Regions from separate parts of the Homo sapiens genome. Here all the other regions are linked to region 6. The links are contacts of gene promoters, found by promoter capture Hi-C in blood cells and fetal thymus (Javierre and others, 2016). All regions are on one chromosome and are shown on one strand. Each heading gives the region's core, a stretch centred on a gene start or on the middle of the fragment in contact. The rest is flanking DNA. Distances are from core to core; before and after follow the strand shown. Region 1 has its middle 110 kb from the start of PMAIP1. Region 2 overlaps PMAIP1 (phorbol-12-myristate-13-acetate-induced protein 1). Region 3 has its middle 90 kb from the start of PMAIP1. Region 4 has its middle 75 kb from the start of LINC03111. Region 5 has its middle 43 kb from the start of LINC03111. Region 6 holds the start of MC4R (melanocortin 4 receptor). Region 7 has its middle 12 kb from the start of LINC03111.

Region 1 (3,037 bases), core at 138-2,637, 360 kb after region 6:
TGAAACTTTATTTTAGTAGTTAAACTACTAAAAGAAAACATAAGGGAAAAGCTCCATGACATTGGTCTGGACAATATTTTGAATATAACCCCAAAAGTATATGCAACAAAAGCAAAAAGAGACAAATAGGACTGCATCACTCTAAAAAGCTCCTGCACAGCAAAGGAAACAAATAGCAGAGTGAAGAGACAATACATGGCATAGGAGAAAATATTTGCAAACCATACATCTGATAAGGGGTTACTATCCAAAACATATAATATGGTTTGGATGTTTGCTCCAAATCTCATGTTGAAATGTAATCCCTAGTAGTGGAGGTAGGGCCTGGTGGGAAGTGTTTGGATCATGAGGATGGATCCTCATGAATGGCTTAGTTCTATTCCCTTGGTAATGAGAGAGTTCTCACTCTAAGTTCAGGCAAGATCTGGTTGTTAAAAAGAGTATGGCACCTCCCCCCTTCTCTCTTGCTCCTACTGTCACCATGTGACATGCTGGCTTCCCATCACCTTCCACCAAGATTGTAAGCTCCCTGAGGCCCTCACCGGAAGGAGATGCCAACACCACGTTTTCCGTACAGCCCGCAGGACCATAAACCAATTAAACCTCTTATTTTTTTTTTTTTTAATAAATTACCTAGCCTCAGGTATTTCTTTAGAGTGATATAAGAATGGCCTAACACAACATATGAGGAACTAAACTCAATAGCAAAAAAACAAATAACCTGCTTTAAAAATGGGCAAAGGACCTGAATAGACATTGGTCAAAAGACTTACGAGAGGTTCGGAGGATCGGGGGCGGCCGAGCGGCGGGCGACGGGGGCGGTTGACACGGGCCGCGGCACGGGCAGAGCAGGGGCCATTGAGCCGCCGCTGCCGGGCTAGGCAGGTCCTGCCCCGCCTGCCCCGCCTGGCCCACGGCGATGTCGAGCTACCCGCGCCGCCGGGGCGTCACCCCGCTGTCCCGAGCCCGGAGCCTCGCCATTCCCGACGATTTGGGCTATGGAAAGGGGAAATGTTCTAAGCAGAGCCCGTCAGGAGCCCACGAGACACATTTTGGAGATGACAAATTTGAAGATCTTGAAGAGGCAAATCCATTCTCCTTTAAAGAGTTTCTGAAGACCAAGAACATCGGCCTGTCAAAAGAGGACCCGGTCAGCAGAATTTATGCAAAGGAAGCGTCGAGGCATTCACTGGGACTTGACCACAACTCCCCACTCTCCCAAACCGGGGGGTATGGCCTGGAGTATCGGCAGCCATTTTTCGAGGACCCGACAGGGGCCGGTGACCTCCTGGATGAGGAGGAGGATGAGGACACCGGATGGAGTGGGGCCTACCTGCCGTCCGCCATCCAGCAGACTCACCCGGAGAGGGTCCCTGCCTGCACGTCGCCCTGCAGCACATACCTTTCCTTTTTCTCCACCCCGTCAGAGCTGGCAGGGCCCGAGTCTCTGCTCCCGTGGGCGTTGAGTGACACTGATTCTCGCGTGTCTCCGGCCTCTCCGGCAGGGAGTCCTAGCACCGATTTTGCGGCTCAGGGAGAGTCTCTGGGAGACAGGCACCTGCGGACGCTGCAGATAAGTTACGAAGCACTGAAAGGTGAAAATTCTAAGCTGAGAAGAAAGCTGAATGAGATTCAGAGCTTCTCTGAAGCTCAAACAGAAATGGTGAGGACGCTTGTGCGGAAATTAGAAGCAAAAATGATCAACGAGGAAAGCGACTACCACGACTTGGAGTTGGTGGTTCAGCAGGTGGAGCAGAACCTGGAGCTGATGACCAAACGGGCTGTAAAGGCAGAAAACCATGTCGTGAAACTGAAACAGGAAATCAGTTTGCTGCAGGCGCAGGTCTCCAGCTTCCAGCGAGAGAATGAAGCCTTGCGGTGCGACCAGGGGGCCAGCCTGACAGTGGTGAAGCAGAACGCCGACGTGGCCTTGCAGAACCTCTGGGTGGTCATGAACAGCGCACAGGCTTCCATTAAGCAACTGGTTTCCAGAGCTGAGATACTGAATCTTGCTGCCGAAATCCTTAAATCTGTAGACAGAATTTCTGAAATTAAAGACGAGGAGGAAGACTCTAGAGGACCCCTGGGTGTTCTCAGCATGAAGCTCCGTGTATGCCCTGAGATCACCACTGCTTGATCTAAATGTGCAGTTGTGTCCTTAAATATGCAGCCTTCACCCAGAGTAAAGTGTTTATCCCAAGAGTCCAGTGTCGTGCCCTCAGCCAGTTCTTGGCCACCGCAATGGGAGCAGCCCTGGCCGAGTTGCCCCTGTGGTTTCTATGCAGCCCTTGTTGGCAAAATTCCTGCTATCTTATAGATTCTAATGAGCTCTTAGAAGACATCGTCATAAAAGCCAGCGATTTTAAGAAAAAAAAAAAAAAAGAAGAAGAAGACTTACAAACAGCTAACAGGTTCATGAATAAATGCTTGACATCACTAATCATTAAGAAAATGAAAATGGAAGCCACAATGCAATATTACCTTATACCTGTTAGAATGGCTATTATAAAAAAAAAAAAGATGAAAGATAAGCGTTGATAAGAATGTAAAGGAAAGGTAACTCTTGTGCACTGTTGGTGGGAATGTAAAACAGTACAGCCATTATGGAAAACAGTATGAAGATTCCTCAAAAAACTAAAAATAGAACTTCCATGTGACCCAGCAATCCCACTTCTCAATACATATCCAAAGGAAATAAAATCAATATGTTGAAGAGAAACCTCCACTTCCATGTTTATTGAATCGTTATTCACAATGGCCAAGACATGGAATAAACTTAAGCATTCACCAATGGATACATGTATTTTTTTAAACATGCCAGTGAAATACTAGCCAGCCTTTTTTTAAAAAAAAGAAAATTCTGTCATTTTCAACAACATGGATAAACTTGGAATACATTCTGCTAAGTGAAATAAGCCAGGCACAGGCACAAAAAGACAAACACCTCATGGTCTCAATTATATGTGGAAACTAAAAAAGTTGAACTTATAGAAGTAGACAGTAGCATTGTGGTAACTGGAGACTGATGGAGGGAGGG
Region 2 (3,343 bases), core at 111-2,610, 470 kb after region 6:
CTAAAAACTAGGGGTATCTTTTAGTTCTCACACTCAAACAGGAAGGCCATTGAGTTACACCTACTTTTGCACATGACTAACCTCAGATGAAGCAATCTTTGCTACTCTACGGCTGGAAGCAGAGGAAGAAGCGTGAGGTCACCAAAAAGGAAACTGCACTGCAGCTCCTCTTGCCAGACAGACCCAGGAGCAGTCAAGGATGCCAGCTCACAAAACACCTCTAATTAGATCATGAATCTGTATAGGCTGTAATCCCAGCACTTTGGGAGGCCGAGGCGGGCAGATGACTTGAGGCCAGGAGTTCAAGACCAGCCTGGCCAACATGGTGAAATCCCCGTCTCTACTAAAAACACAAAAATTACCCAGTGTGGTGGCGTGTGGGGGAGGCTTTAGCACGAGAATCACTTAGACCCAGGAGGCAGAGGTTGCAGTGAGCCAAAATTGTGCCAATGCACTCCAGCCTGGGCGACAGAGCAAGACTCTGTCTCAGAAAAAAAAAAAAAAAGGACCTATGTTGGGCATTCATTTCCTATTTTTCACTATTTCCCCTCCCAATTAAAGTGTAAGTCCCTTGAGAGCAGAAATCATGCAAACTCCCCTATATTTTCTACTCCAACTACTGGGAGGAGACAGTGTGGTCAGAAGGTCAGAGGATGTCTGCTGATGGAAATCAGTTAAAATACTTTGGCTTGATAATGAACACTTAGTAATTAGTAGCTTACAAGATGAAGACAAAATTAACACACAGAAAAGAACAGTGAAAACTTTTAATAGTTTACTGCCACAGTATCAACTTTTATATGTGTGCATATGTTTAAATACAAATTAGACCATAAATACCAGATGGTAAAATAGCTGCCTCTAGGCTGAAAAAAAAAACTCTCTACCACTAAATAAACAATCTTAAGTAATACTGAAGAAAACAGATGTGAGGTAATTTTCCATCTAAAGTGACTACAACCTACATTAAGACATTTTAACTAAAAATTCAAGTAGTTATAAGACTCTTGTAACTCAAAAATGTAACTTTAATACACATTTTCAAACTAAAGAAAAATACTTTAATTATAAATAGGCAAAATAAATAAAATTATTCCTGCTGAAATAAAATCAAGACATTATTTATTTGAGGACTGTATATAGCCCAGATAAAAAAAATGAAACTTACTTGAGACCCTACTAAGAAGCTATATAATACTCTAATACAAATTATCTATACAGATACCCATATAAGTATGTAAGTATGTGTATACATATATATTCACCAATGCATATATGGAACTTTCATTCTAGATGAGAACTAACTGTTCCTTTTTTTTAAGAAAAGTATATTCCAATTATGAAAATATTCTTAATTTACATTAAGAGATCACTTTTTGTAGGATGCACACTAATGTGACAAGGAGCATTTTCCGAACCTTTAGAAACTTCTTTAGAAACATTCATATCTTATCAAGTTACTTCTGAATATTTGTTCTACTAAGTTTCAAAAACATCAATTAAAAATTAACTTCTTTTTTCTTTTTATTATCCCTGGTTATACAAAATCCCCATGTTCTTTTATTATATTGAATGTTCAGTCTACTGATTTACTGGCCCCAAGTAACCCTCCTATACTTTATCCAATTTTTTCAAAGTTATTTTCCAGTTTTCCATAGTTTCTAGTAACGCCCAACAGGAACACATTGAATGAAAGATCATCTGAACAGAAGCAATACAATTTGAGTCAAAAGAAACAAATGATTTTACGTTGTGTAGTGACCGAAGAAATCAACACTGAGTATAACATTTCAGTGTTCTCAGAATGAGTTTTTTCATTATAACAAGGTAATATGTATAAACCGAATCATATACAATGTGCTGAGTTGGCACTGAAAAGCAAAACACCAAAAACAGCAACAACAACAATGCACTGAACTGTTTCTCCCCAGCCGCCCAGTCTAATCACAGGTCATCTCCCTTCACAGTAGGCCAGCGGTAATCTTCGGCAAAAACACTAGAACGATTCTCTAAGTAAAAAAGAAATGTGTCAATAATTACTTCTTTATTTTCAAGGGTCTTCCATTCTTGCTTTAAAATAAACAAAGTGGTTTTATAATGTTCTCTCATCCCAAAGAATGATAATCTGGGAAAACTTGAACAGAAATTCACTTTGATGTATTCCATCTTCCGTTTCCAAGGGCACCCATGAATGCACCTTCACATTCCTCTCAATTACAATGCAGTCTTTCTTCAAATTGATGAAACGTGCACCTCCTGAGAAAACTCTTTTGAAGGAGTCCCCTCATGCAAGTTTTTGATGCAGTCAGGTTCCTGAGCAGAAGAGTTTGGATATCAGATTCAGAAGTTTCTGCCGGAAGTTCAGTTTGTCTCCAAATCTCCTGAGTTGAGTAGCACACTCGACTTCCAGCTCTGAGAAGGAAAGCAAAACATGGACATGAACATTGATGATATTACAGACTGTAACCAGCAAAACCTAATACGCCCACACTAGTGACAAATTGAGTATCCCAGGAAGCATTTCTCTTAACTTTGGCTTTATGTGCACCTGTTTTCCAAATGTGACACACACACACACTTACACACATTGTGACTCACCGAAAGCAATCGTTAAGGTAAGAATAAAGACATTTACTTTGAGTTTTTAAAAAACGCATCCTGGATGAGGCAAGTGTTACCTTACTTTCAAATATGTCAAATACCACAAAGAGTAGCATTATCATTCTTTGGGATGTGAGAACATTGTAAAACCACTTTGTTTATTTTAAAAGCAATGCTACAAAGAGTAGCATAAGTCACCAGCCTTAGATGATGTCATCTTTTTCTCTTCATTTAAGGTTGGCTGGGAAACAGAAGTCAAGTTCTGTGTGGCTTTCAAGTAGGATTTGATTTTCAAATGGCAATAATTTACAGCTTAGGTTATACTCTCATTATATAGGCAAATCTAGAGGTATTCTTTTTCTCGTTAAAAAACGCTGATATTTTTTCATAAAAGACTCATAAAATCTTATTCTAAAATTAAGTCCACATTCTCTAAAATAATTTAAACATTTCTATTTTAATGTAAACCCACTTCTTCCTATAACCCCATTATGTACCAATCCATTGCCTTTATGGAAATGAGAGGAGCAGAAAATAAGCAATGTTTAATTCACATGTTTACTACTTTTTGGAATTGAGTTATTCTAACTGAATATTAAGAAAAATGATGCTTATAATTTCCAAGTACACTTTTTTTCAGTAAGTGCAGTTAACACTATACTGACTATAATATCGTATCTATACTGACTATAATTTCAATTTTCTTGAATATTTCAAAGAGCAGCTTGAGGTCTTTCGGGTA
Region 3 (2,913 bases), core at 103-2,602, 380 kb after region 6:
AGTATATACAGCTACTAGATACCCATAATAATTAAAAATAAAAAATTTAAATATGTATATGTAAAGCAGAAATATCTCAGTTAAAAGCCATGGAAGTACTAATGAAAAAAGAGATACTGAAGCAAATATTGTCAGCGTGACCCCAAGGTACTCCCAGTAAAAGTCTTTTCCAATGGATTCTGCACAGTCTACTTCCACTGGCATCCTAGATTTACTGTGAAAAGATGAACCAAGCTAAGCCTGCCATTCATCATTTGATTCCTCTAAACCCCCATGGTTCACACCAGACATCACAGGGAAACGATTTTATTTCTCTTGGTGTATAAAGCTAAAGGTCTACTCCCAGGGAGAGAATGACCTGGTCAAGTGGACCTGCATGTCAGACCCCCAAGCTTTAGAGCAATGATGCTCAAACTTTAGCATTCCCTGGGAGATTCTGTTAAATCATAGATCCCTGGATTCTACCCCCAGAGAATCTGATTTAGTAGGTCTGCAATGAGGCCCCAGAATCTGCCATTTAACAGTTTCCCAGGTGATGATGATGATACTGGTCTAGTGACCATACATTGAGAAACAATCCTTTAGTTAAAAGGATATGTGGCAAAAAAATCTACAGATGATGGGATGCTGGGAAAGATTACATTCAGTCGTTTATATTTTATCTGTGAAGAAGGAGACATGGTAATCAGGAAAAAGGGATGGAATTGGAGAGAGAAAAGCTTGAGCAAAGTGTGAAAATTTTAAAATAACTACCACAAGGAATGATTAGCACTTGAGCAGTGCTAAAACCCCAACCAAGGTCAGCAAAGGTAATTATGGTGAAGCTTCACTGAATAGTGATGATATGCTAAGTTCTATTTTGGAATCTTGAATGTATTTATTGCTCCTAAAAGTCTCTGTATTAAGAACTTTTGTTATCCCCATTTTCCAGGGAAGAAAGCAGGCTCATAGGTCTAGTAAGTGGGAAAGCTAATATTTGAATCCACAAAGTTTAATTGCAGAGTTCATACTATCAGCAATCATGCTAGTCTGAGACTAAATCATTAAACTTCTTCACTTTGAAATGGAGAAGTTTAATGATTTAAAACTTGGGCTCTTATCCAAAACCCAAATGGCTTTTTTTTTTTTTTTGTGGTCAATGTTGAGACCACATTAAAACATTGTTTAGATGTTCTCACTCTCTGCTGATGATAGCATTGGAGTGAAAGGGAGAGATGTGAAAGATACAGCAGGACAAGACAAGCAGAGAAGGGTGGGCTGGTTTCTCTGTAAGAGCCTCCCAGCTTGGAGGGTTGGCCATAATGTAGCTGATCCTCAGCTTTTCAGATCAGCTACTAAACTCTCATGTCACCAATAGATTGGATGCCAACTCATTTATTTACAGTGAAGGGGGATGCACCTTTACAGTGGTAACCAGAATATTTATATTCCATCTCCAGAGCATATTCTTCCACCAATCAAAGTACCTGCGATCCAAATTAGTCATCAGAAAGCCATTTGTTGGACAGAGAGTCAGACTAGAGGAAGTAAATGGAGGTGCCAATATTTAACTAGGAGATGCTGGTATGATCAGGCAGGTGTTTTCAGCTAGCATCCATTCTGATATCTATATCCATGCTACAGTGGTTGATAATTTTTTTGTATTTAGGTTATCTAAATGATAAAATGCAAGAAACGATGAATTACAGCCACTCCATAGGAATATTCCATTTAGAAGCAAGCAGCAAAAAATAAAATAATGACTAGCACTATAAAGTAAAACATCTCATTAAGAAAGAGATCGTCAAATGTTTAGTGTAATTTGGAAGAAGATGTCTAAGAAATTTCCAAGTAATAGAAATTTTTTTAAGTTTATATATTTGGCTAAGAAAAAAGCTTCAGTTTTCTTGGAAATTTAATTATGTACCAAAGTGAATCCCCACATGATATAAATGAGAATATCTACTAAGAAACAACTAACTATAAGACCCCTGGTGTATTAGTCCATTTCTGCACTACTATAAAAAAACTACCTGAGACTGGGTAATTTATAAAAAGAAGGTTTAGTTGACTCACAGTCCCATATGGCTGGGGAGGCCTCAGGAAACTTACAGTGATGATGGAATGGGAGGCAAGGCACACCTTACATGGCAGCAGGAGAGAGAGAGTGTACACGAAGGGGGAAGCACCATCAACGCTTGTGAGAATTCACTCACTATCATGAGAACAGCAAGGGAGAAATCCAACCCCATTTTTCAATCATCTCTCCCACCAGGCCCCTCCTTTGACATGTGGGGATTATAATTCAAGATGAGATTTGGGTGGGCACACCGAGCCAAACCGTATCACCTGGTGATGGCTCCCCTGGCTTAGAATTTTAGATTACTAAATGAACAGGGCAATAACACAGGTACTTATCTAAACATAAGCAAAGACCAGCTACTTGTAAAGCAAATATTTTAACACACTTAAAAGAGTCAAATGGCCACATAAAAAGGCCAGAATAATTAATTATTTTGGTTATTTTAACTTTACCCAAAATAGAAATATGTATATTGTGTGTATAAAGCTAAGAACTAAGCTCACGCATAAAGCCACGCATTTTTAAAGATGTGCAAAATATCACTTTCCAAGGATATTCATACCTAACAGAAACACTGTTCCATTATGTAAAAAACAGGAACATGTTGCTAATCCAGCATTATTTACATTGATGGGCTAAAATGCTAACTTGAAATAATTACTGGATTGGTTCTGTTCAATTACCAAAGCTTGACATTCACCTAAAAACTCCCCATTCTGAGTTGTTGCTACAAAAAGAAACTATTAACCACCTACAAAGTAAGTCAGCACCTTATTTCATCTGCCTACAACACCTCCATTACACACAATACTCCCTGAGAATAGTATTAAAAGATGAATAGTGATAAAAGA
Region 4 (3,186 bases), core at 469-2,968, 320 kb after region 6:
AAAGAAATAAACAAACAAGATCAAAGAAACATTTTTCAGTCCAGTGAACATACATTAAATTTCAAAAAAGTATTTAAATATGTTGAAATATGAATGAAATATTCAAGTATTAGGATTAATCAGAAAAAGTATTTGCTTATTCATTTTATCTAGCAAAATCTATTGGATATCTATTAATATCAAAACTCCTGTATCAGAGGAGAGTCCCCATTTTCTCAGCCACAAAAAGAGTAATAACAGTACCTGTCTTGTAAAGTTGCAAGAATTACATGACTTTATTTGCATAAAATGCTAAAATGAAAAGCTAACATGTGTGGTATTGATTTGGGTATAGGACAACAGAAGACAAAGAAACTTCATAGGAGGCTGGACAATTTGTGAGAAAACTATTATTGTTCCACCCATAACGCCTGTTATGGGTGGCTAGAAATATAACAACTTGTGTTACATAGTAACCAAAAGATGGCTACCACTGTCACCTGAGATAAAGAAAGAAAATAAATATGTGAACCTGTGCCTCATGGTTTCCAGGCAAAATGTTGAAAGTGTCAATCAGTTGCTTTTAGGTGCATTTGGAAAGGCTCTATGAGAAAGGCACAACCTCAGAAAACAACTGGACACCTTGGCAAGCAGAATGAGAGGGAACATAGAAAACCAAAAGCTGGCTGGGTAAAATAAGGCTGAGACCTACTGGGCTGCATTCCCAGATGGTTAAGGCATCCTAAGTCATAGGATGAGATAGGAGGTTGGCACAAGATACAAGTCACAAAGACCTTGCTGATAAAACAGTTTGCAGTAAAGAAGTCGGCCAAAACCCACCAAAACCAAGATGGCAACGTATGACCTCTGGTCATCCTCACTGCTACACTCACATTAGTACCATGACAGTTTACAAATGCCATGGCAACGTCAGGAAGTTACCCTCTATGGTCTAAAAAGGGGAAGCATAAGTAATCCACCCTTTGTTTCACATATAATCAAGAAATAACCAAAAAAATAACCATGCTCTGTTTACAGAGTGGCCATTCTTTTATTCCTTTACTTTCCTAATAAACTTGCTTTCATTGAAAAAAAAAAGAAAAGAAAACCAAAAGCTTATTAACTAAAACACTGAACTCTTTCCCTTCTCCAGCTTCTCCAGCCACTAGATTTTCAAATTAGGTTATAGCCCCGTATCAAAGACCAAGGCAAGAGTGTAGCCATCTCTAGATGATTTCAGTAGGCTGTCTTACTGACAAAAACAGCATCTATAATATTTAGGGGCATGGTCCCACAGATGCAATATGCTTAAAATACTTGTAATTAAGTATAGAGAAAATGATGTATTAAAAATAATTGTGAGTATATTTTTGGGCAAATAGAGTTAACTGGAAACAGATACACAGAAAACCCACAAAGTTTTTGAGAGAGACGTATTAGCAAAAGTTGTACTAGCCTATTGTATGTGTAAAAAGGCTTCTGGGCTTCCAATTTCTCAGACAGGAAGAAAGCTGAGGATGCTATTCTATCATCAAAAAACACATATTCTCCACTGTCCCTGTTGGATTTAGGTCCAAATTAAATGATCAAATTTTTTAAACTTTGAAAAGAAAATATAGGATTTCCTATTGCATTAGGGATGGGAAAGAATTTTAAAAATACAGAAAGCATAAACCATAAAGAAAAGGATAGATGCATTTAAATTAACATTAAAACTTCCATGGATCAAAAATATGATTAAAAGAGTGTGAAAAACTGTATACTGGGAGAAGGTATTTGAAATATATAAAAATAACAAAAAGTACAGTACATATATATGAACTACCACAAATCAGCATAATAAAAAGCAAACACAATAGAGAAAGGAGCAATAGATATGAACAGGCAGTTTACAGAAAAGGAAATCAAATGACCAACAGCATGAGAAAAGGTAGTCAAATTCACTAGATGTCAGCAGAGAAATGCAAACTAACACAAAAAAGGATACTATTTCATACCCATCAATTTGACAAAAATTAAAATATTGGCAAATACTTGTCAAAGTTTGAGAAATGGGAACTTTTAGCCATTGCTGGTAGAAAAAATGCAAATTGGTATAAACACTTGGAAAGCCACTGGCAATAGTTAGCAGTGTTTAAGGTGTGCATGCCATGAAATGTAACATTTCTACTTCTAAGCAACAAGCCCTAGAATAATTCTTGCTCAGGATGCCAAGGAAATATGTATACAAGTTTCATACAGCATTATTTATAATTGCAAATAATTGGAAACAACCCAAATATTCATCAACAGGTAATAGATAGACAAATTCATATTCCTACAATGAAATCCTAAACAACAGTAAAAAAATGAACTGAAGCTTTATGTCATGTATCAACATTAATGAACCCCACAAATATAATGTTGAATATATTTGTATATATGATACACCACCACAGACAGAGCTTTTTAATGTGCAAGAAATTCTTTGTAAAGTTTACAGATATAAGTATATGCAGTAAAATTGTAAAGGTATCAATGAGGGTAAAAAATGATAAATTCTGGGAAACAGTATGCCTGAAGAAAAGAGACTGAAATGTAATTGGGGAACAGCACAAAGAGAAATTTGGCTACATCCCTAATGTTTCTCCTTAAACTTGGAGTTGTGGACATCGGTTGTCACTATATTAGTATTATATTTTAAACGTTAGTATTATATTTTAAACCTTACTTTATGGAAAATTTTAAATATATACAAAAGTAGAAAAATACTATAATACAGCACCATGTCCTACACATTACCCAGCTTCAACTTTTGTAATTTCATAGACTACCTTGTTCAAGACATAGTCACATCAAAAACCTCACACAAGCATTATTGCTAAAGAAACTGAAGGAATTATATTATTTCATCCATTAATACCTCAGCGTGAATAACACTCACTGGGGCCTTTCGGAGGGTGGAGAGTTGGGAGGAGGGAGAGGATCTGAAAAAATAACTAATGGGTACTAGGCTTAAGACCTGGGTGATGAAATAATCTCTACAACAAACCCCCAAAACACAAGCTTGCCTATGTAACAAACCTACACTTGTACCCCTGAACTTAAAAGTTAAAAATTTTTTTAATTTAAAAAATAAAATAAAAATAAAAATAAAAAAATCAGTATGTATATCCAAAAGATAAGAACATTTTAATATAATCACAATACCATATTATGTCTTTAAAA
Region 5 (3,360 bases), core at 819-3,318, 290 kb after region 6:
TGTTACATGGGTAAATGTGTGATTTAGAACTGGAGATACCATTTTTTTAAATTAAGGGAAATGTTTTCAAAAAGCATTTATGTACTACTATGCTAGAAAATTTGTTAACATTACTCCAACTTAAATATCTAATTGCTCTTAATAAATAATTATGAGATTTTTTTCCATCTCAAAAATCATATTGTTTAGGACATTTAAGAGACAATTAAATGAATATTGATGACTTTATGAAAAACAAAAGTATTCTTACTTATGTTTGTGCATGATTAAGACACTTTGCCAACATCACAACGGATTTCAAACAGCAGTCACATACACTCACAAAAAGTGAGTAACAAATGCTTGCATTGTTAACCAATAAAGATAGAATGCCTTAATATAACTGTGTAGCTTGAACAAACAAAAGAATAAAGCCCTAGGCTCAGGCCTCTTCAGAGTGTTAAAAATCTTAACTAAAGAATGTTAAAAAAAAAATAAATAAATAAAAAAGATTGTTCAATTCTTACACCACATTTCAAGAAGGACGTTGGTAAACCTAATAACACCCAGAATGAAGAAGAATTCAGAAATTTCATCATATGAAAGACCACCTACAGAAACTGGAAATGTTCAGCTTAGAAAATACAATATATATAGTGAGATGATAGATTCCTTAAATATTTAAAGGATTAGCTTTGGGAAAAATTGAACCAAACTTAATTCTGTTAAATGCGAGAGAGCAGAATTGCAATCAATCAGTAAAAACTTGTAGGAAGACAGATCTTAGTTAAATGTGTCTTCAAACAATAGAAAACTTTATAAACAAACAAGTTATTAAATAAAAATCATAAATTAGATTATTACAATCTTTGAAGGGTCATATACTTACCAAGGTCTACTTGAAAAAGAGTGAATCCCTTGTGTGTGGGAGGAGAGTTATACCAAAAGATTTGAATCTGTAAGAGATACTTGGTGAGGACTGCATGCTGGGTAGAACATCAGATATTCTCTTCCAGCCCTGAGTCTCTCTAATACCGAAGCAAGATCACACTAAGGGGTAGAGTTACTGAGTGCAAAAACCACAGAAGGCATGATTGTTGCCCACAGAAACCCAATGTAGCATGCACAGATGAAAGAAAACCATTTACCAGCAGTATGTCTAAGAAATCATAGAATCTAAAATACTACTTCTCAAAAAGGCTTTTCCCAAAATCTAAAGTCCCCATGCAAAAAATAGTTGAAAAATGGATATCCTTTAAAGAAAAAATGACTTGGACTAATTTATCTTTATAAATCTAGAAAATGTTATTTGCTAATTAATTAAGCCAATTCAGATGCTGTAGTTCATCATAAAAGAAAACAAAGAAAAGTAGATGTTAAGCTTAAGACGATTCTGAGAATTTATTACAAATTGGCTTTTCCTTTTATAAACAAGGCAAAATTTAAGTATTGTCTTAAAATTTAAAAATACTGAAATTCACTGACAATAGATACAAATACCTATCAACTGTTAATAAGTTACCATTTATTGAGAATTTGTGTGCTAAGCCCATGCCAGGCATTAACACCAATTGTTTTTCTTCAAAAACTCTGTTGCCTGTTGTAAATGAGAAACCAGAGGTTTAGGTAGCCTATTTGTTAATGAGGAAAACTATATGACTTGCTAATAGCCACACAGATAATAACTGGCACTAATACATTAGTTGTGTTGTTTATACGAAAGTATATGCATATGTATGATAATGACTAATATTAACAAAAAAAAGCTTAAAATTTTAGTTCTAATAATAAACGATTAATGTGGCAATACAGGCAAAGATAATAACTTGTTTCATCTGCTGCTTATCATTTCTTTTTGCAACATTAAATTCTATCCTGTTGAATCAACATACAAACATTAAGGTCCATTTTTATGTTAGTTTGCCCAATAATAGCAATTTTAAATCCTGCTAGAAACAACATCTGTGCACTTGAATAAGTACGCTTATGTGTTTGCACTACATATGATAGAAAAAGTTCATTTCAAATACAATATTATGTGAAGAAAATAGGGAAATTAAAATTGTTTGGTTATAAAATAAAATTATATTGTTTTATTTATTCTGTGGATTGAAAATTAAGATATTTCATGTCTATTTTAACTGCTTGTTTTAGGAAATTAGGAAATTACATAAGTGAAATTTTACTTGTAAGATTTTTCTTCGATTTGTTCCTTCTGTGTGCGGCATCCACATAAATTTCCATAGAGATAATTGGCTTGAAATTTTATACATTTGTTTTCTTTTATAGTATTTTAAATATTAAAGAATTTGCAAATTTAAGTCAAGCATATGTTTTTTAAATGAGAAAATTGAGACTTAGAAGGTTTGTGATTTGAAAAATACAAAATATTCCTATCCAAAAGAAGCTTACAAATTATTATTTTGGCTAAGATTTACTGTTTCTTCTTCCATATGACACATATGTCTTATACACTTTGGATACTAAAATTTTTGAGATTTTAATTTTTGATACATAATATTTGTGCATATTTATGGGGTACATGTGATATTTGGTTACATTAATAGAATATGTAATGATCAAGCCAGGGTATTGGTGTATCCATCACCTCAAGTATTTATCATTTCTATGTATTGGGAACATTTCAAGTCTTCTCTTCTAGCTAATTTGAAATGCACAATACATTGTTATTAACTACAGTCACCCCACTCTGCCATAGTACCCATTAACCAGTCTCTCTTCAAGGCTCCCACCCCACCACTCACCCACACATCCATCCCAGACTCGGGTACCTAAATTTTACTCTCAATTTTCATGAAATCAACTCTTTAAATTCCCACATATGGTAAAAACATGAGATACTTGTTTTTCTGTGCCTGACTTACTTAATTTAACATGAGATTTCAATTTCATTCATTTTGCTCTAAATGACACAATTTCTTTCTTTTCTGTGGTTGAATAGTATGCCATCGTGTTTATATATTACATTTTCTTTGTCCATTTGTTCATTGAAGGATACGTTGACTCCATATCTTTGCTGTTGTGAATAGTGCTGCAATAAACACAGGGAGGCAGGTATCCTTTTGATATACTGATTTCATTTCTGAGAAATCTCCATACTGTTTTTCATAGTAGCTATAATAATTTACACTCCCACCAAAAGTGCATGAGTTCCCTTCTCTCACATCCTGAATAGCATCAGTTACTTTTTGACTTTTTAATAATAGCCATTCTAGCTAAGGTAAGATTATATCTCATTGTGATTATGATTTCCATTTCCCTGATTATTAATAATGTCGAGCATTTTTTCATATACCTGTTGGCCAGTTGTATGTCTTCTTTTGAGAAATGTTTATTCATGTCCTTTGCCCACTTTTTAAT
Region 6 (3,004 bases), core at 20-2,519:
ATATGGTCCTGCCACCTGTAACATGAGATTTCAAAGACAGGAGAGAAAACTTGTGTAAAATTATGAAAGAGCTAATGCGATGAGCCCCACTGTCAACATGCCATTAGCTAGAATTTAGTCATAAGGTCCTACCCAATTCCAAAGGTGGATGGAAGACGTTAATTTATCTCAATGCTCAGGAACAATACTTAGTATTGTCTCTGTCACAAAAGGAAAGAGGATACATTCCCAACCTAAGTAACTGAGATTCAGAATTAACCCTGAAATAAGCAGCTACAAACTATAGAGCACTAAAACCAAAAATAATCATAGAAGAAAAGAATATACAAAATTTTGTATAATCTGTTGTTCAGTTAATTTGGAAAGTAACTTTGCTGCCATCTTTCAAACCACCTTAAGCAAAATATTCAGAAACTTCAATAACTAACTAGTATCACCAGTCTTGGCTTGATAAGTAAAGTTACTAGGTATTTGTCGGTTCAACTTACGATACGTTAAACTCTGGAGGTTTAAAAAAAAGTTGCTTAAAAAAAAAAAACAGAATGCAGCTTATTATTTTCCTGAGTTCAGTGTAAGCATAGTTACATTAATGCCGTATGAGTTTAAAATATTGTAAATAAAAAGCACCTTTTTTCAGCTATAACACAAACTCCTCAATAGAGAAATATGGGATATTAGTGCATTAAAATCAACCCCTTTTGAACCCATTCATAATTTATAGCTACCTACATAGTTCTTCCAGCCATACCATGTCTATCTGTATCATTAAATATCCTCTCTGTTTTTCAGGTATTTTAACTGAACCACTACTGGCTGGGTTCTTAATAAAAACAAAAAATTAAGAAGGTAAATAAATTCAGTATCCTAGCCAAAAAGCAGAGTATCTGTTTCAGGAACATAAGACAGTATACTTTCCATTTCATTTTACACACACACATGATGTCTTTTACATAAGAATGAACCTGGCTGCCTGAAGATAGCTTGTTTTGATATCACAGAATGGCCTCTAGGGATCAAGTTGTTTCCCTTGAAAACTTAAAAAGGGAAATTCAGTCTCTTATCCGGCTTGCTTCTCGACTTCAGACTTCAGGAGCTTCTGCATCTGAATCTGTGTCACCCTGCAATTTGTGTCTCTGAAACATAATCCTGTCTCACAGACTCCCATTGCATTGGGATTGGTCAGAAGGAAGCAGAGGAGGAGCCACCGTGAACATGTTTTTTTTCTCTCCACACATCATAAAAATCAGCAGCTGGCGCCTACAGCCCCTAACACTCAAAGCAACGCTCAGGCTGGAAACAGAAGCTTCCGAGAGGCAGCCGATGTGAGCATGTGCGCACAGATTCGTCTCCCAATGGCATGGCAGCTTCAAGGAAAATTATTTTGAACAGACTTGAATGCATAAGATTAAAGTTAAAGCAGAAGTGAGAACAAGAAAGCAAAGAGCAGACTCTTTCAACTGAGAATGAATATTTTGAAGCCCAAGATTTTAAAGTGATGATGATTAGAGTCGTACCTAAAAGAGACTAAAAACTCCATGTCAAGCTCTGGACTTGTGACATTTACTCACAGCAGGCATGGCAATTTTAGCCTCACAACTTTCAGACAGATAAAGACTTGGAGGAAATAACTGAGACGACTCCCTGACCCAGGAGGTTAAATCAATTCAGGGGGACACTGGAATTCTCCTGCCAGCATGGTGAACTCCACCCACCGTGGGATGCACACTTCTCTGCACCTCTGGAACCGCAGCAGTTACAGACTGCACAGCAATGCCAGTGAGTCCCTTGGAAAAGGCTACTCTGATGGAGGGTGCTACGAGCAACTTTTTGTCTCTCCTGAGGTGTTTGTGACTCTGGGTGTCATCAGCTTGTTGGAGAATATCTTAGTGATTGTGGCAATAGCCAAGAACAAGAATCTGCATTCACCCATGTACTTTTTCATCTGCAGCTTGGCTGTGGCTGATATGCTGGTGAGCGTTTCAAATGGATCAGAAACCATTGTCATCACCCTATTAAACAGTACAGATACGGATGCACAGAGTTTCACAGTGAATATTGATAATGTCATTGACTCGGTGATCTGTAGCTCCTTGCTTGCATCCATTTGCAGCCTGCTTTCAATTGCAGTGGACAGGTACTTTACTATCTTCTATGCTCTCCAGTACCATAACATTATGACAGTTAAGCGGGTTGGGATCATCATAAGTTGTATCTGGGCAGCTTGCACGGTTTCAGGCATTTTGTTCATCATTTACTCAGATAGTAGTGCTGTCATCATCTGCCTCATCACCATGTTCTTCACCATGCTGGCTCTCATGGCTTCTCTCTATGTCCACATGTTCCTGATGGCCAGGCTTCACATTAAGAGGATTGCTGTCCTCCCCGGCACTGGTGCCATCCGCCAAGGTGCCAATATGAAGGGAGCGATTACCTTGACCATCCTGATTGGCGTCTTTGTTGTCTGCTGGGCCCCATTCTTCCTCCACTTAATATTCTACATCTCTTGTCCTCAGAATCCATATTGTGTGTGCTTCATGTCTCACTTTAACTTGTATCTCATACTGATCATGTGTAATTCAATCATCGATCCTCTGATTTATGCACTCCGGAGTCAAGAACTGAGGAAAACCTTCAAAGAGATCATCTGTTGCTATCCCCTGGGAGGCCTTTGTGACTTGTCTAGCAGATATTAAATGGGGACAGAGCACGCAATATAGGAACATGCATAAGAGACTTTTTCACTCTTACCCTACCTGAATATTGTACTTCTGCAACAGCTTTCTCTTCCGTGTAGGGTACTGGTTGAGAATATCCATTGTGTAAATTTAAGCCTATGATTTTTAATGAGAAAAAATGCCCAGTCTCTGTATTATTTCCAATGTCATGCTACTTTTTTGGCCATAAAATATGAATCTATGTTATAGGTTGTAGGCACTGTGGATTTACAAAAAGAAAAGTCCTTATTAAAAGCTTAACAATGTCTCCTTCGTGTTATTCATAAGCA
Region 7 (3,136 bases), core at 454-2,953, 260 kb after region 6:
GAGAGTGTACAGCTGACCTAGCACACACCATACCTTGGGCACCAGGAATAACAGCCCTAATAGATGATATTTAACAGGGACAATAGTATTTCCCATAGAGAAACATTGGGATGCTGTTTTAGAAAAAGAAAAATAGAAATTGAGTGACAAATATATAGGTATATATTTTCTCTAACAGCTCTTAATCACTATGATATATTTCCTCCTTACTAAGCCAGGAATTGTGCTAGGCCCTAGAAGCCATAAATAAGCAAAATGCAGTCATTATTCTCACTGATAGCAACAGGTTTTGAAGTAAAATGAACACTTTAAGGACAAAGAAATTGGGTAATGTTGGAGGTGAGTAACTGATAGATCTGAAATTAAAGGTAAGAGAAGGTACTAATTTCCTTGTTACTAGTAAATAAACTGTTTTAAGCATTTTATTTGGAAAGCTGCTTTTTCCTAGAAAACTCAGGAGTAAAATTCTACCACTTCCTTGAGTGGAAGGAAATGGAATGAAGAAAGAGCAGAGAGGATAGCATCTTAAAGTCAGGAAACTAAGATTTTGAAAGCAGTCTAGGAGAGACCATGTACTTGAAAACAAGTGAAGTGTTATCATCTTAGCATAAAACTGACCTACAAGAGAGATGTCAAGGGATTACATAACTACAGGAAAATGTCAAAGGATTATACTGCTGGCTCCTGAAGAAACAAGGCACTGGTTTGACTCAGCCTCAGTTAATCTCAGGATTAACTCAGAGCCAGTGTTCACATAATGTAGGAGGTAGAAAAAAATAAGCTTCCATAAGTCTGGATGGAAATACAGCCATAATTGGCCATAGGACACATGAGCAGACTGGAGAAGATAATTAAGCCCAGGACAGGATAACCTGGGGCCCATGGGTTAGGTCCTTTAGATGTGTTGGGCATGAGCCTTCCACATCCAGAGGATACAGGACAAGAGCGACCACTAAGGCCCCAATTTGATGCAGCCCACCTGAAACACAACAGAGCAACAGAGAGTCCCAGCAGGAGCCCATACCTCCATGTTTGATCTTAAAGAAACAAGAATGCTACTATACCCGCCCTGGTAACAAGGACAGTCTAAATGTTCCTTGGCCTACTTTGGCCTCAGTGACCCCAATTCTAAGGTGAGGAAAGCTTGGAAAGCCTAAATGGGTCCAACAAATGTTATTGCTTTTTTGTACCCACGTGCTGAATAAATTGAAAAACAAAATTAAATAGTGACAGGTGGGAGGTCAAAATATTATCTTTATTATCTATAAAGCTTAAGTCAGAGGGCCTAGCTGGTGTGAGAATGAAACGAGCAAGGACTAGACAGACTTCCCTATTCAGGGGTCAAGTCTGGCAGGCCTCCCTGTTGCAGCAGAAGAGCTTGTTCCTGGGGACAGCTGTGGAACATCTGTTCTCTCTGAGCAGCTAGATCCCCAAAGTAAGAAAAGCGTGACTGAGTGAGCTACCTGTATTAGGAGAAATTTTACCTTGCCTAATGGTAGTCTCCAAGTACAATACCACACAAACTATCTAAAAAGTTACAGAACAACAAGTCTTATGTATCATGTTAAGATGCTCAACTCATGCAATGTATTAAATCAATTTTAAAACATATAGAAACAAGCAGAGGAACAAGATGGGATAAGATATGGTGGATATGGAAGGACCACACTACTGAGTCCAGGATTATGCAACGTTCATATGTCCTATTTCTCTCCACATCAGCCTTTCCTGCTGATGCTGTGATTACAAAGACCAGGGTTGAGACTGAACAACAGGTCCCAACAGGTAGATAGTGCCTGGAGCCAACACGTGCTTGTGGTATTGGAGAAATGAGGACGCAAGTATGCTTGGCCACAGCTGTAGCTATCTACAACCTACCGAGCAGCCAGGCCTTATTTCTGAATTTCCGCATCAGCATACAGTTGGGGCCAGACTTTGTGTCACCAATAAATGGTTGATTTAGGAATGATTTGGTTGTCACTGTAGACGTAACATGTTCTGTGCTTTGCTAATATTTAATATTTACTTGGTTCTTCCATTTCTATCTACAGGCGGCACTCTCATTTGTTCCATTCTTCATCTATGTTCGACCCACATCTTTCACTTATTTTGTCTTAGACAGGTTATACAAGCTTCCAACTTCACAATTTGTAACAAATGGAGACTATCAGTTTCATCCATCCCATTACTTTTCTGGGTTTTGTTTTTGGTGCAAAATTAAATATTCTCAAATATAACATTAAATACATGATATACAACTCTAATTATTCTTTCCCAAATTTGCTAATAAAATAAATGATCCTGGAATGAGTGAAGAGAATCCAGGAGTTATATTAATTGAGTTTCCTAGACACAGAAGCAAACTTTAAGATGTCAGAGGAAGTATTACCCTGTAAAAATAAGGTTAGGCTGTGATCTTTAGATTCTCTCAGATAATTATGTTCTATATACAGATGAGATATTCTCCAGTTTTTACAATGTGATGAAAATATATATCACATAAATCTGTAAATGAAGCACTATGAAAGAACCTACTGTTTATTCAGGTTTGCTCAATTTGCAAAGGAATGAAAAAGGATAAAACAAAGTGATTCTAGAAACCATAGACTCTATTTCTGTTTACCGAAGGAAGTGGTAGGTGTATTCTCCATAAGTGAGACATTATTCCGGAATTATGTAAATTATTCACCAAACATTGCAAAGCACTCTGACTTCTCAGAAATATTTTAATTCTATGGCAAAAAAATTAAATTGTCTTTTCAACTGACTCATACTCTAAATTTAATTGTAGGTTTATTTGCTAGGAGAGATTCTAAGAAATGTATGATACTATTTGGTATGTGGCCACCTTTTTGCCATATTACTTTGAAAGTTTAATAAAACCAATGCTTCAATAAGTATGTAATGGTAAAATATTAAAATTATTTGTACTCCTAAATATTTGCTTATCATTTAATTGTATATGAATATAATTAAACAGTTATTTAACTACTATAATTACGGCAACAACACAAAACATACTCCTTGATATTATACAATGAATACCTAGACTTTACAGATATAAACTTCCCATTTTCTTTTCACTTTGCCAGATGATGGAAGAAAATGGTAGCTTTTTAGAAAACAACAAATGGAA

Evidence for each region. Contacts are between HindIII fragments. The CHiCAGO score rates a contact against its expected background, and 5 or more counts as called.
Region 1: a contact is called between a fragment that was not itself captured here and the fragment with the promoter of MC4R in region 6, in 1 of 17 cell types (fetal thymus). The highest score is 5.7, in fetal thymus.
Region 2: a contact is called between a fragment that was not itself captured here and the fragment with the promoter of MC4R in region 6, in 1 of 17 cell types (fetal thymus). The highest score is 5.0, in fetal thymus.
Region 3: a contact is called between a fragment that was not itself captured here and the fragment with the promoter of MC4R in region 6, in 1 of 17 cell types (fetal thymus). The highest score is 8.0, in fetal thymus.
Region 4: a fragment that was not itself captured here is called in contact with the fragment with the promoter of MC4R in region 6 in 1 of 17 cell types (fetal thymus); the score reaches 6.8 in fetal thymus.
Region 5: a contact is called between a fragment that was not itself captured here and the fragment with the promoter of MC4R in region 6, in 1 of 17 cell types (fetal thymus). The highest score is 5.3, in fetal thymus.
Region 7: a contact is called between a fragment that was not itself captured here and the fragment with the promoter of MC4R in region 6, in 1 of 17 cell types (fetal thymus). The highest score is 5.7, in fetal thymus.

Annotation. Positions count from the first base shown.
Region 1 is chr18:60,009,026-60,012,062 of GRCh38, reverse strand. It overlaps the pseudogene ENTR1P1. Among named protein-coding and RNA genes, the nearest start is that of PMAIP1, 110 kb to the right of the region's middle. The HindIII fragment of the contact is 7,406 bases long and covers 1-3,037 here.
Region 2 is chr18:59,901,716-59,905,058 of GRCh38, reverse strand. PMAIP1 (phorbol-12-myristate-13-acetate-induced protein 1) reads right to left here. Exons shown (of 2, transcript NM_021127.3): 2 at 754-2,412. The coding sequence ends at 2,306. Among named protein-coding and RNA genes, the nearest start is that of PMAIP1, 3.4 kb to the right of the region's middle. RefSeq lists an enhancer at 64-233. The HindIII fragment of the contact is 5,229 bases long and covers 1-3,343 here.
Region 3 is chr18:59,988,882-59,991,794 of GRCh38, reverse strand. No RefSeq gene overlaps it. Among named protein-coding and RNA genes, the nearest start is that of PMAIP1, 90 kb to the right of the region's middle. The HindIII fragment of the contact is 1,051 bases long and covers 827-1,877 here.
Region 4 is chr18:60,048,078-60,051,263 of GRCh38, reverse strand. No RefSeq gene overlaps it. Among named protein-coding and RNA genes, the nearest start is that of LINC03111, 75 kb to the left of the region's middle. The HindIII fragment of the contact is 1,244 bases long and covers 1,097-2,340 here.
Region 5 is chr18:60,080,659-60,084,018 of GRCh38, reverse strand. No RefSeq gene overlaps it. Among named protein-coding and RNA genes, the nearest start is that of LINC03111, 43 kb to the left of the region's middle. The HindIII fragment of the contact is 641 bases long and covers 1,748-2,388 here.
Region 6 is chr18:60,371,040-60,374,043 of GRCh38, reverse strand. It overlaps MC4R (melanocortin 4 receptor), which reads left to right and starts at 1,269. Exons shown (of 1, transcript NM_005912.3): 1 at 1,269-2,982. The coding sequence starts at 1,695. The coding sequence ends at 2,693. The HindIII fragment of the contact is 4,351 bases long and covers 1-1,305 here.
Region 7 is chr18:60,111,206-60,114,341 of GRCh38, reverse strand. No RefSeq gene overlaps it. Among named protein-coding and RNA genes, the nearest start is that of LINC03111, 12 kb to the left of the region's middle. The HindIII fragment of the contact is 862 bases long and covers 1,273-2,134 here.